Regions from separate parts of the Homo sapiens genome. Here regions 1 and 2 are each linked to region 3. Evidence: promoter capture Hi-C in 16 types of primary human blood cells and fetal thymus (Javierre and others, 2016). All regions are on one chromosome and are shown on one strand. The core of a region is centred on a gene start or on the middle of the fragment in contact, and the rest is flanking DNA. Distances in the headings are between cores, read along the strand shown.

Region 1 (4,711 bases), core at 1,029-3,528, 500 kb before region 3:
GAAACCCTGTCTCAAAAATAAATAAATAAATAAATAATAATAATTTTAAAAGGCCGGGCGCAGTGGCTCACACCTGTAATCCCAGCACTTTCGGAGGCCAAGGCAGGTGGGTCACCTGAGGTCCGGAGTTCAAGACCAGCTTGACCAACATGGAGAAACCCCATCTCTACTAAAAATACAAAATTAGCAGGGTGTGTTGATTCATGCCTGTAATCCCAGCTACTTGGAAGGCTGAGGCAGGAGAATCGCTTGAACCCGGGAGGCAGAGGTTGCGGTGAGCCGAGATCGTGCCATTGCACTCCAGCCCTCCAGCCTGGGCAACAAGAGCAAAACTCCATCTCAAAAAAAAAAAGAAAAGAAAAAAGAAACCCACTTTCAGTTGGCAGCGTGGTTGAAAAGATGGCTGGCAGAACTTGATAGAAAAACTTGGCGGGGAGAGTGTAGGACAGGCTACTCTGCAATTTCTTTAGAATAGTGTTCCCTAAAGTGTGTTTTGTGGAATATTGGTATAACTTGAATAGATATTACTTGAAAAAAAGGGAGGTGGAGCAAATCTCGGAACAATTGAAACAAAGTTCAACAGGTTTCTTTCCTGTAGGACTTTTTAGAGCCTTTAGTATAATAATGTGCATGATGAAACTCTACTAACAAAACAGAATATGCAGTTAATCTTAGGCTAATTTGGGCATGGATTTTTTTTTTTTTTTTTGGTAGCATATCTTTCAACAGTGTGTTCCTTAGAAACCACTGTCTTAAAGGACTGTTGTCTTCCCAGCTCTGGAGGTGAGGTTCCAATCATCGTGCAGTTCTTAAGATTTTCTTCCTCTACCTAGAGAGGCGGGGTTTCTGTAGGGTTTGCAGAACTCTCTCCAGGTGTGAGGAGGGGGAGAGATGTTGGGCTCCCTGAGGGCAGTGATGCAGGGAACTCCACCAGAGCTGGTCAGAGCCCACTTCGCCTGTGTAACCAACCACTGGCTTCCCTATCTTCCACCTGGCCATGGGGTGATCTGCCAGTACGTGCAAACTCTCCAGCATTCCTGAACATGAACAAGGCACTCCCTTCCTGCTTCTAAACAGATGCCCCAGACCTCTCAGCAAGTGTGGCTAAAGAAGGTACCCTCTCGTCTGGAGCTGACAAGAAGGCCTGCCTCTCACTTCTGTGTGGAGATCAGCTGCCTGAGTTTCTTCTTGCCTGGGGGATTATGGTGCTGATCCCTGGGATTCAAGGCCGGGAATGGAGACAGGAAAGCAAAAGCCTTTGAGGGAGGTGGAGTATGGTGGACAAGAGGGACCAGATTCATAGCTTCCGCTGCGGTCGGGGAAGCTGTCAGGAGAGGGCAGTGCAGAGCTTCCTTGCCTTCTCTCCCTAGCTCTGCCTTACAACCGGCCGCACACAAGGTGAGTGTGCTGAAATTGGCTCTTCCTCCCCAGACAGGGCAGCTGAGCTCACGCAGGACGCACATCTACCTTGTCCCCTTCCCTGGGTAGTCAGGTGTATACTGAGGCCTCCAAATTTTGTCTGGCCTCTGGTCCCATGAAAAGAGCAAAGGATTGCCACAGCAACCACAGAAAGAGAATTGTGCACCAGGGTTACGGTAGGTAATAAGATTTACTGAAAACGTCTCGGCCACATTCAGTACTGGTTTGGTGGATACATCAGAAGGAGGTTGCATAACATTAGGCAGGTGGAGGGGCTGAGAGGAAGAGATGTGGGCACCTGTGTGCCAGTGTGTCCGTGCTGGGGGACGCCTGTCCAGGTGGTGAGTGGAACGGTGTGTGTGTGTGTCTGTGTGCGCGTGTTAACAAGAAAAACGAACCAGAAAAGGAAATGCATTTTATCCCACTGCACATTGCAAAAGTCTCACGCCAAAAAAGCTAGACTTTCCTCTATGTATGGCATCAAAAGGGAGTAAAAAATGATTGGATCACCCAGATTATAAATAAGGTTATTTGTTTCTCAAAAATCCTTATTAAAACATTAAATATCAGCTCTTTTGGGGGAGAAATACATTCATTTCAGGGAGACCTCGGAAGAGTGACCATCCTTTTGCTCTACCCCAACCAGGTGGGGGAGGGGAAGCCCCAGAGGGCCCAAGGGGTCCCCTCCAGTTGAGCCAGGTAGCCACTCACATCCTGCCACTGAAGGAGGTGGCCAATGCACAATTTACAAATGAAACTGCACGTCCATTAAATTAAACCCAATGGAAAACACACGTGTGACCTGTCCTGTCATTCACAGCCATGGGGTGAGAGGGAACCGGAGGAGAGGGTGCCAACCAAGGGGGTCTGGAAGGTGGGTGGGAGGGTATGTGTTAGGGTGGACAGTGGAGAGCCTCCTCCTCCTTCCAGGAGCCCCAGTTCCTCCAGGGCTGTGGATAGCAGGGTTAGAACAGCTGGGTGGGGTGTGTGGGATGGGCATCCCCGCAGGCTCTTGGGTGCCATTCTCTGGGCCCTCCCCCACATTTAGGATATTGATGGGAAGAGGGATGTAGCACCTTCTCCAACCCCTGGCTTCCCACTGGACTAGATGCTTTCCAATGTTTCTTCTGCCTTCCCTGAAGGACAGAATGAAGAAAGGAAGCTGGAGGCTGATGGAGCCAGGCTGGGAGCAAAGGGATGGCCGTGGCGACCTGCGGGCTGGAAAGATTCCCAGATAACCTGGTTTCACCTTCTCTGAAGGTCTATGGAGGGCGTGGAGCACTGAAGGTGGGAACATCTAGGGTAAAAAACCATTGTCCTGTTGTTAAAGGAGCTAAGTTCTGTGATCACCTAGGGACAGCTGTGGCCTCAAAGTCACCTCCATATGGTTCCTAGCCCAGGGTCTGCCATCTCCTTGGCTCTTGGAGTCAACCCAGAAGGGACTCCTCTTAACCTCCCACAGGTTGAGCCCACCAGCTTACAGTTGGTTTCCAGGAGAGAGTGAAGGGCACTGTGGCTCCCATCCCTTTCTCCCATGTCCATGGTTGCTGTGCGCAGAGACAGGGCCTTGGAGGGATGAGCTGGAGCCTGGTGGATTCCATCCCATTCTGATCTGCAAGATGTGATGCCTCAGGCCCTCCCACTCCTCTGGCCACTGGTTATGCTTTGGGGCTCCCTCCTGCCCTTGAATGTCTGTCAAAGGAGCTGAGAAACTTCTGGGGATGAAACTCAGTCCCCCTTTGTCTCTCCCCTTCCTTCTAAGTCTGCCCCCGGGCAAAGGCCTACTCTGCGAACAGCACCAATCTGCCTCAGTGCAGGGCTTGTAAACAACTCAAGTCCTTCCGTGGGTGGGGGCCATGGGTGCCATCTATCCTCAGGGATTTGGTGAGTCCAGATCTCACTCCTGTCTTTCCACACAGGCTGCTCGACTGGCCCCGCCAAACAGAGTCCTCGGCAGTTCCAGGGAAGTGGGGCTGGGGTCCTCATTGAAGCTCGGTGGTTGGGAAGGAACAGGTGTCTCCTTTGCCTTTCTTCAAGCTACTGATTTGGGGAAGCTAGGGCCCAACTCCCTCGGTGCTTCCTGCCCATGTCCCCTTCCCCCCCACCCTGAAGGCCTCCCGGCGACACTCCTCTCCTGCTCAGTGATCAGTGCCATCTGGGCTGCCCGACTACTCCAGGGAGTCACTGTGTTCCAAGCCCAGGTCGCTGACATTTGTCGTCTGCAGCTCGTCGACCTCCTCCTCCAGCTCCTCCTCCTCCTCCTCTTCCATCTCATCCTCATCCTCTTCTTCTGTCCCATCCAATGAGTCATCGTGTGCAGCCATCATAGCCTGCTGCATGGCCATGGTGGCACTGTCTGAGGACAGGGACTGCAGGTTGTCCAAGTTGATGGAACCTGCGAGAGAAAGCAAGGGTCAGGACGAGGCAGGGGCTGCTGGTCAGGGCCAGCACCTCTGTGTTGGACAGGGTTTAATGGACTGGCTCATAGAGCAGTGAACTCCTTGTTTTTAGAGCTGTCCAAGCCTGAGCTGGACAATGCCCTGGTATGAAGTCTCCCATCCATTCACTAGTCAGCTACTCCCTGCCCCATCTCAGGAAGCAGCACTCCCAGCCACCGTTCACTGCACATTTTCTTTATGTGTTGGCCACTTTTGACTTTCTAACAATTCTGTAAGGCAGGTATTATTATCCCCATTCTGTCTCAGACAGTTAAGTCATTAGCTCAAGATGACATTGTCAGCGATGACAGAGTTGGAATTTTCTCCCAGGCTGGTCCAGCCCCCTAAATCTGTTTTTTTTTTTCCCATCATAACCCATAAGATGGCTCATCACAAAGGAACCTGTGCACAACCATACACATACACGTGTGCATGAGGTTATGTGTGCACACACGCACACCTACGCTCCACTCCCCATACAGAGCTATCTTCATATGCCAAGCTATAAAATGCTTGGCTCATTGAATTATTCATTGTGCACTAGGCGACTGGCAATTAGAAAAGTGTATATGGAGGGTGTGATGGAGAGGCTGGGAAAACAGAGCTCTTCCTGGCCCCTGTTCACGAGCCAGCTGCCTGCCTTGATATTTATAGATGGCCTTGGCTCCTGAAGAGCTGTGCAGATACTTACTGGTGCTAAGGAACTCAGATGGGTGCGGACATGGGGGGCTCTGCTGAGCAGTCACTGACTTGCGTGACCACCAACTCCCGCTTTTCTTTATGAGAGTGCATCTGGTCTGTTAAATTATGTACAAAAACATCCCCTTCTTTAGGGCTTTGGGGAGGGATAATCA
Region 2 (4,455 bases), core at 1,176-3,675, 470 kb before region 3:
CAGCCACCTGCCATCCTCCCCCCGGCCACTAGAGGTCTCTGCTGATCCACCGGCTCAGACCACACTCACCAAAGCCTCCCAGAAGGCGCGTGCTGGCGGCTCCCCTGCCTGGGCTCGGGGCGGGTGGGGGTCGGTTCTGAATGTCTCCTTTCTGCTGGAAAGCTTGTCCTGACCTCTCCAGGGCACAGCCGCGGCCCGTCCTCTGGACTCTTCAAAGCCTCCCATCTGCCTTACATACTGGACACAACAGAATGGTTCTCTCTAATGCAGGCGTCGTCTTTCCCTAGCTTGGTGGCAGGCTTTTTGAGGGAAAGAGGGGTCTTTCTCTGAATTCCCCGAAACTGCTTAGCGCAATGTTAAGTGCATGGTACATGCGAGATACATGTGTGGTCTGACTTTGGCCTAAGGCTGTGGGTGTATTCCTGTGTGTGGTGGTGTGTGTGTGTTTGTGTGTGTGTGATGTGTGTGTTTGTGTGTGTGCCCGCGCAAATGTGCCTTAGGAGGGTGGAGAGGTTGTCCCTGTCCCCAGACACCCCTTCCCGGCAGCATCCCTCCGTTCTGGCAGAGCCAGGGCCCTGTCTTAGACCAAGAAAAGCCAGATTCCCAAACTCGGGAAAGCCAAGCACATGTAAACAAGCCACCTAATCCTGTTCTTGTTCCACTCCTGTTGGGGGCCTTGGTCTCAAGGGAAAGGCAGTTCTGGCCTGTGGGGACAAGCAGCAGCTGCTGCTCTTAAGGAACATTCCTTCTCAGGCGGGAGAAGCGCTCAGGTTTCACTAGCCTGGCGGCAAAGGCCACCCTCTGGTCTCTGGGCTCCACGGCTGCAGGGCTGGGGGTGAGGAACCGGCAGAAGAGACAGCTTTAATGCCTGTGACAGGCAGTGTGGCTCATTTTATTCCACTTCAGTCTAGGGATGCCCCCTGTCCATCTAAGTAGTGATCTTTCCAGGGTAGATTGCCCCCTACCCCAGCCCCATCCAGTCTTCTCCCTGGTCCTGTCCTCAGGATGCTTAGCCACTGGGCAGAACCTCTAGGGTCCTGGCTGAGGTGATGGCCCCCTACCCCTTCCGCCCCCTGCCAATCTGGAAAATCCAAAATTCCTTAGAGGTCAATAGGCAAGTGCCACCCTTCTCAGGTGGGGATGCATTGATTAGCCCCCTTCCTATTCTGCTGGGGAGGCGCAGAGCTGCAGAGTCGCATCTGGCAGCTGGGCCTAGCATCTCAGAATGTCCTCAACTTTGTACCTCTCATTTCCCTACTTCCAGTCTACTAGCAAATCCAAATTCTTGCTTCGTAGCAATTGGCTTCTTCCTCTGTAGTCCCTACCCCACTGACCAATAGCTAGGTAGGGTCATCACTCTCCACCCAGGTCCCAGGACCCCTGATTCTTCTCCCCATGTGTCACAAAAACATATCCCCATGTAGCAAGAAGAACATGGGCTCTGGAGTAGCCCATCCCGGACTCCAGCACTTGCTAGGTGTGTGACTTTGAGCCAGGGTCTTCACTTCTCTCAGCTTCTCTTTTCTTGGATGTAAAATGGAGAAAATCATGTGTACCTTGCAGCCTGTCATGAAGAGTAAATTAGATAATCTGTGGAAAGCACCTAGTACACACCATGTTTGAGACAGAGGGGAGCTCAATAAATGTTCACCGTCTCCCCTCCTTCTGCCAGCTCTTCTTGGACCAATACAAGATGTGGCTGCTCAATTGATTTGTCTCCAGCGTGTCTCCAGCCCTGACCCTGTTGCCTACATTCTCCACTACCTTTAAAGTCTTTAGCAGTCGGCCACCACTATTAGCCCCAAAACAGAACTCCCACACATTTGGCTTCAAGGTACTCCATCATTACACTTGGAGACCTGGGACTGTGTCGCATCCATTTTTTATATCCCCAGAACTCAGTAGGCTCCAGAGGTGCCTGAATGGATGCAGGATGCGTGAATGAATGAGCCCCCTTCACCCCATCTCCTCTCTAGGGATTCTGATTGGCTCTCTCTGTTTCTCGCCTTCTTTCAGACTTCTTGCTACATTGGAAACACTCACCTTTATAAAGGTTGCCAAATAGGCTACCAACTCTCACCAAGCCTGCCTGAAATGCCACCTCCCAGAGGAAGCCCTCCCAAGGCCAATGAATCTGTAACTTCTCCAATCACAATGGGCAAAATCCTCCTGTTGTCCTCTCCACTCTGTACTGAGGTTTGTTTATCCTATTGTGGAGCAGGAACAAACTGGCCATGAAGGTGTGAGGGCTGGGTCTGGGACTTGGTCCCCCTCTGAGGAAGGATGAAGGATGCTGAGTTGAGACTGGGGCAACCTCAAGCCACACATGTGGATCACCCAATCCAGAATCCCTGCCTGCAGCTCCTCTCCCCATCTCTTTGGCTGCTCCTTTCCTCTGTACTCTTGACCCTGAGCATTTCACGGCTGACATGATTTATCTAGATCCTCATTGTGACTCATGGCTCTCTCTCCCTGAGACTGGGAGCTCCTCTTGGACAATGGCTTGTGTCTGTTCTCACAGGACCTAGCACAGAACATACAGTGAGTGCCCCCCAAACGCTTGGCAATTGAATGAGAACCATGATTCAATCCAATTTGCCTGGAATAGAGCTGAGGCTTAAATCTCCACAGAGAAAAAAGGATGAATTTCAGGTCAAACTAATACTTGAGTGAGGTGTCTCTCTAGTGGAATGGTTCCATTTGCGCCCTCTAGGAAGGACAGGAGAACCCAGAGTAGGGTCTAGAACCAGTCTCCTTACAGAGGATCCTGCCCCCACAAGAAGCCTGGGCTCTGAGGAGTAGGAAGCCTGGGTGTCATTGGGTGCCTGCAGCACAGGATGGGTTCCTAGGGAGGGGGAAAATCTAGCTGTGGCCCAGGTCTTTGAAAGTCTGCTTTAGTCCCCTGCTTGGTAGAACAGTCTCCCTTACTTCCCATCTCCACTTTGCCCAGCAGAGAAGACTCACACAGAGAAATCGAAGGCCGAGCAGGAAAACGCTCAACCCATCGATCTGGATGGAGGACACGGCATAGCATCTGGGAGTGGGGATACCAAGTTGAAAACAAAAATGTCTCCCGCTTTGCAACACAAGGCTGGATGATTAGCACACAGGGAAAACCATGAGCCAGCAGTTTGCAACAAAGCTGGCAGGCGGCTGGAATGTTGATCCAGAGGATCATGTTCCAGAGGGGAGACACCCCTCCCCAGGCCAGGCTGGTGCTCAGGCTATTTCAGGCCGGGGGGATTAAGGGTGAACCATGACGAATGCATGTGCCCGCGTGTGCACACACATACACACACACACACACACACACACTCACAAGCTCCTTTTCTCTCTCTCATACAGGCTCCTGTGTCTTGAACCCAAGACCTGCCTCCTGCACTGAAAGTCTCGGTCCCCGATTCTTAGCAGCCCTGGGCCTCTCCTTCCTGGGAGAGCCCATGCAAGCCCGGCCCCTACCTTAGTGCAATAATGACAGGGGCCTGTCCTGGGAAGGCTTAAGAGACGTGTGAGTGTGCAAGTGGGCCGAGGGATGGCCAGAGAAGGCAGGAGAGCAGGTTAGGAAGCTCCTGCCATAGCCTATGTGTAATTACCGTATTTACCCCTGAAGCCTGAGCAAAGCAGGCAGTGGCAGTCAGAGAAAATGCAGGGGCAAGTTTGAGTAATACAACAGGAGCAGCACATAGCACATCCTCCTGACTTTCCCGCCTCCTCGTACCCTGGCTGCGCACTGAGCCACATGCATTGTCCTTTCACTTGCTGTCACTCTTGCTGCCGTTCCTCTCTCCGTCTGTCCTTCTGCCCCGTCGTTCTCAGTATCGTCTCCCTTTTCCTGGGTTTGTGTGCCTCCCTGTCTCTCTCTCTTGCTCTTTTCCTCCAATTCTTCAGCCTGTCTCTGCTTCCCTCCTGAATGTTGACCCTGCATATTTGGCTTTCTTTCCCTTTATTTTTCTTCCTATTTCTCCTTTCCTCCTTTGGCTTCCCCTTGCCCCTGCCCCCCACCCAACTTTCTTTCTCTCATTCCATTATTTCTTTCAATAAATACTTCCCGGCCATCTTTCTTGCACAAGACCTTGTGGTAGCCACTGCTGGGGTCACAGGGAGAGTACACTAGGACTCTGAAGGGATGAGTCTATTTCAAGAGACTATCAGCAGGCAGAGGCTGGAAATGGCTGTTTTTGGCCTATAATAAGGTGATTTGGTGATTTCAAACATGTAAAATACTGTCTCTGCTCAAAAAGTGTTATCTAGGATAGGAAAATGAGATGAACACAGGGATCTATAATATAAAGTCACAGTGACTTTTGCCATATCGATGGCTCAGCAAGCTCCACCAGTTAGTGGAGTGCAGGAAGCGTCCATTCTGGATGGGGCATCAGGGAGTCCTCCTGGGTGAGCAGCCTTGTTCCTACCCTTGGGGAAGAAGCTGGGTTTGGTTGTGCAGAGATGATGGGG
Region 3 (4,706 bases), core at 1,097-3,596:
AAGGCCTTTATGTCTTTGTAGTTGCTGTGATCTTCCACATGAACCTCTCACCGCCCCCAGGGTAGCAGAGGAAAATATCACTCCATCTCAGTAAGCCCAGTCTGATCCAACCATTTTCACACTGTCTTTAGGTAGCTCAGTCTCTGCTTGGACAGCTCAGGCAATTGCTCAAGCAGTCTTTCCAATGTCCTCTCCCAATCCCAGCTCCTCTCTAATAAGAGTTGGGGTAAATATACATGGTGTGGCTGAAGTAACCTTGTGGCAACAGGGGGAGACAGTGTCTGTGGACCTGTGTGGTATTCTCAGGTTTCCCACCAGTCTCTACTCAGGGTCTACATTTTTTCCTGGCCTGATGAGCTACCTGAGGCTCCCACCACAGCAGTAGGTGGTCCCAGCTGTTGCCTCTGGCCTCAGAATCCCCGTACATGGCAGTGCCTTTGCTCAATCTTCTGTTTCCTGCCAGTTCTTTACCCTCTCGGCACTTCTGAGTCTCCTAAAGGGCTTCTGGACACCTAGAAGCCCTTGCAAATTCTGTGCAGGTATAAAGAGCCACCTCTGGGGCGGGGAAGTGGGGATATTGAGAACTTAGATCCTTTTAGTCTCCCTCTAGCACATTTTTCTTTCCACAGTGCTTCAGGATAACAAGGGCAGACTTCGGGCTTTCTATTTCCCAAACACTGCATCCTCCTTTTACTCCCATCCATAAGCCTCAAGGCCCAGCCATCACAGGCAAAGAGGCCATTTATCTACACTCCAGAAGGACTCTGTGATCCAGTCCACAGGCTGATCTATGATATGTCAAGGGGTAGATAAAAGAAATTAGAATGCTCTTTTGTCCCTTACAAAGACTGGCTAAGCCTTTCATCTTGCTATGGACTTTGAAATGCTATTTTAAATGTCAGAAGCTGAATATTGACTCTTTTTGTGTACCTGCTATAATAACATTACCTCTTCCAGTGGAAGAAAGGTGCCTTGAGTTGTCTAGGGAAAAGTCATAAACACAGAAATGCAAAAGGAAAAAAGAATCCCCTTTATATATTTCAGAATGTTTTCAGAGAGGTCTGTGAAGTTCAGTGCTTCCCAACTCTTCTCCCTCTGCCGAGGCTCAGAAGGGCTATGTAATAATGCTTCAGTTCTAGAAAGTTGACCTACTCAGGCTTTCTCCAGTATGTAAAAAGAATATTTAGAGAGATAATTGCTGCACTTACAAAACCAAGACCAGGGGTTAGGGATGACCAAGAAGGAAGTTGTGAAGTTTGGTCTCCCAAAAATATAAAGATCCCAGCATGAATGAAAAAAGAAACAAGGCAATTTTTAAAAAGTTTAAAACATCATCTCTGTAACAAAGGATTTGCTAGGTACTCTTCTGTACCAAATCTCCATCAACGCTCCCAACAATTCCCCTCAAGGAAGCTCTTCTTTTCCCCATTTTACAGATGAGAAATTGAAGGCTCAAAGAGGTTGCGAGCCCATCCCAAGATCACAGTTACTAGGCATCCATTCCCTTGGCCGCCCTCATGAAAAGGTGTGAACACATGAATGGGGGTCAGAGTAGAGCTAGAGTGTTTCTCCTCTTCACAGCCTCAAAACAGGAGGGCACAGCTAGGCTGTTAAGCTGGTAACAGAACCCTAGGATGCTGGCTGTTAGGAGATGACCTTCATTTTGCTCAGACATGTTCTAGAAAATTGCCTGAAAGCAGGGGAATGAACAGAGTGGCTTCTGGAAAGAGGTGTCCAGCATCTATGTGATTCTATGATAGAAGAGAAAATTCCAAGCCACGGAAAGACAAGTGTAACAATAATAGAATTCAAGCTGTTTTCCAGTCTTCTTCCTTTGGGATGGAACAGGGGTTTTCCATTTCTTCAGCAGTTGTCTGGAGTCTTTCACTTCCCAGCTTTTTAAAATCTCTTCTCCCTCCCTTTTCAGAGCTTATTGGAGGTCTGTCCTGGCATGTACCCTCCTCCTCAGGGAGAAGGAGTGTTAGGTGGAGACAGGGTAGGTTGGGACACAAAGTCCAGTTAAGTGTGTGTCCCAGCTCAGTGCTCTGAGCCCAGATCCTCATCTCCCTGGGTAGTGAGGCTCAGCACAGACAAGCAACCAACTGCTGGGCTGCCGGTGCCCCCCATGTTGGAACCTGAGTTGGAGATTATCTCCTAAGCAGATACCTGCTTCCAAACTGGGGATGTAGGGCTTGGAAACTAGAAAATGCCAGGTCTGAGGGAGAGGAAAGAACAAGTCCAGCAATACACAGAGCTCTGTGTATTCAGAGGGAAGTTGGCAGGGTTGTGTTCGGGCAGAGAAACTCCGAGTGGTACAAAGGGGACGTGCCCAGAGTGGAGAAATCATGCTAATTGTCTGCACTAGAGCTGGAGAACGCCACCCAAAATGAAGAGAGAAAGGGGAGCCCTGTCCAGAGCCTCCAGGGCCCTGCGCCTTGCTCCTTTTGTCTACCTTCTTCTGATCCAGACAGGTAGGAGGCCAGAGGGTAAGAAAGGGTCTGAAGAAAGGACCCGGGGCTTTTACAGCAGACGGAGGGGAGAGTGGAGGGCCTGAATGCCTTTGGGGCAGGAGTGGGGGAGAGTTCAGCTGCCGTGGGAAACATGTCAGGGAATTCAGGCATTAGCGTTGAACGTATTTCTTTATTTTGTGTGCCTCCCGCGCGGCCCCTACCCCCTTCCCCCAAAAGGCTGCATGACTTTGGAGCTCCCACGGCATTCAGTACATTAGATGGCGGGCACTGGGCCATTTCGTATGGGATGACTTGTTGGCGTGGGCCAGTCTGGCATTCTTTCCAAGGGATTGTGGTGGGGCTTGATGGGTAGGGGTAGGGGAAATTTTCTTTTTATACCTCCCCAGCCCCCGACTCTGGCTTCTCTGTGTGTAAAAGAGTAAGGCAGATGAAAGAAGCTTTGGAGATAATGAGCCTCCTAATGTGGGATAGTCATACCCACCTATCCATAATTCACTCCACTCCATAGCTGCTTACCTCCTCTACCGCCCCCTACCAATCCTTTGAGAAGTGATCTTATTTAAATATACCTATTTATGAGTACATACACATATACACACACACACACACACACAATTACAGAGCACCTAGGAATTCACAACTTAGTGAGGCAAACAGATGTGGAGATCATTTTACTAAACTGCAGGAACTATCATAAGTCAATTATGCAGAGAATGCATAGCAATCAGAGAAAGGTCACCTACCCCATCCAGGAAGCTGGTGCTGGTGGAGGGGGTGTTGGTAGGGTAGGACACAGGGTGTGGGAATATCAGGGGGAGGTTTTCTGGTAGAAGGAATGTGTGCACTGAATTTTAAAAGATGGGGAAAAAAGGTAGGAGTATAAGTGGGTGTTAGGGTTGGGAAATGAGCAAAGGTCAACAGCTTGAAATAACATCAAGTGTTTAGTCAGAGCCCAGCAGTTCATCACTGCTGGAGAGAAAAGCATGAATTGAGTGAGGCAAGAGCTTTGTAAACCAGACTCGTAATCTGGGGATTGAGAGGTGAGGGAATGAGCGGTTTTTAATTTGGGGACTGTCAGGGTTACATGTACCTTTCAGATAGCTTACTCAGTCTGCAGGGGGTCATTCGAGGGGAAACTGGAGGCAAATAAAATAAGAAAGGAAGTTTGTATTCATTTTCTAGGGCTCCTATAACAAAATACCACAAACTGAGTGGCTTAAACAACAGAAATGCATTATCTCAAAGTCGTGGAAGCCAGAAGTGGGAGATCGAGGTGTCAGCAGGGCCATGCTCTCTCTGAAGCTTCTAGGGAGGGCTCTGCCTTAGGGTTCTCTCCTAGCTTCTGGTAATTCCTTGACTTGTGGCAGCATCACTCCAGTCTTGGTATGGCATTCCCCGTGTTTGCATGTCTATGTCCACATTTCCCCTTTTTATAAGGACACATACTAGATTAGGTCCATCCTACTCCAGTATGATCCCTTCTTATTAGATCTGCAGTGACCCCATTGCCAAATAAGTTCACATTCTGAGGTACTTGGGGGTTAGGACTCCAACGTATGAATTTGAGGGGAACACAGGTCAAAAAGCTATTGCAATAGATCAAGAGAGAAATAGGAGAAATAACATGGACTGAAATTATAATAAAGATAGAAGGAATGAGGCATGTTGAGAAAATATTTTAGAGGTAAAGTCAGGAGCTAGTGACCTGTAGGAAGTAGGAGGATTTAGGAAGGGAAGGAGGATTGCTGTGTGAAACCTTAAACAAAAAAAATGAGTATCATACATGTTTAGATTGAAATACTTATGAGGCTTCCGTGTGAAGATGTCACATAGCCTGGAGTTGGGTGGCAGAGAGGTCAGGGTTGGAGAGAGGTATTTGGCAGCCGTTAGCCCATAGGTGAGAGTTAAAACAATAAGAATAGATAATATTACTTAGGAAGGGAAAAACGTGGGATGAAAATGAAACATCATGTAACCTCAAGATTTGTAGAGGAAGCAGAGGAAGAAATGCCCATTAAGGAGACAAAGAGAGAACAGCCAGAGAGACAGAAGGACTAGAAGCCTGTGGTGCTGTCCAGAAAATCAAGGGAGTTGAGAGTTTTCAGGAGTAGATCAATACCATTGAAGTTGTCAAAGAGATCCAATGTGACAAAGACCCAAAAGAGCCCATTGGATAAGGCAATTAAGAGGTTACTGTTGGCTTTGGTGAAATGACAATGAGCTGAAGAAATAATG

Evidence for each region. The method cuts DNA at HindIII sites, captures the fragments that hold promoters and counts their contacts. A CHiCAGO score of 5 or more calls a contact.
Region 1: a fragment that was not itself captured here is called in contact with the fragment with the promoter of HEPACAM in region 3 in 1 of 17 cell types (endothelial precursors); the score reaches 5.1 in endothelial precursors.
Region 2: a contact is called between a fragment that was not itself captured here and the fragment with the promoter of HEPACAM in region 3, in 1 of 17 cell types (endothelial precursors). The highest score is 5.6, in endothelial precursors.

What each region holds. Positions count from the first base shown.
Region 1 is chr11:125,430,269-125,434,979 of GRCh38, reverse strand. It overlaps PKNOX2 (PBX/knotted 1 homeobox 2), which reads right to left. Exons shown (of 13, transcript NM_001382323.2): 13 at 1,591-3,814. The coding sequence ends at 3,588. Among named protein-coding and RNA genes, the nearest start is that of FEZ1, 64 kb to the left of the region's middle. RefSeq lists a silencer at 1,213-1,507. The HindIII fragment of the contact is 6,745 bases long and covers 1-4,711 here.
Region 2 is chr11:125,400,627-125,405,081 of GRCh38, reverse strand. The region is part of intron 7 of PKNOX2 (PBX/knotted 1 homeobox 2); the gene reads right to left. Among named protein-coding and RNA genes, the nearest start is that of FEZ1, 93 kb to the left of the region's middle. The HindIII fragment of the contact is 4,522 bases long and covers 165-4,455 here.
Region 3 is chr11:124,933,687-124,938,392 of GRCh38, reverse strand. HEPACAM (hepatic and glial cell adhesion molecule) reads left to right here and starts at 2,346. Exons shown (of 7, transcript NM_152722.5): 1 at 2,346-2,471. The coding sequence starts at 2,387. All of the region lies in intron 1 of LOC107984406 (a long non-coding RNA gene), which reads right to left. The HindIII fragment of the contact is 6,598 bases long and covers 1-2,910 here.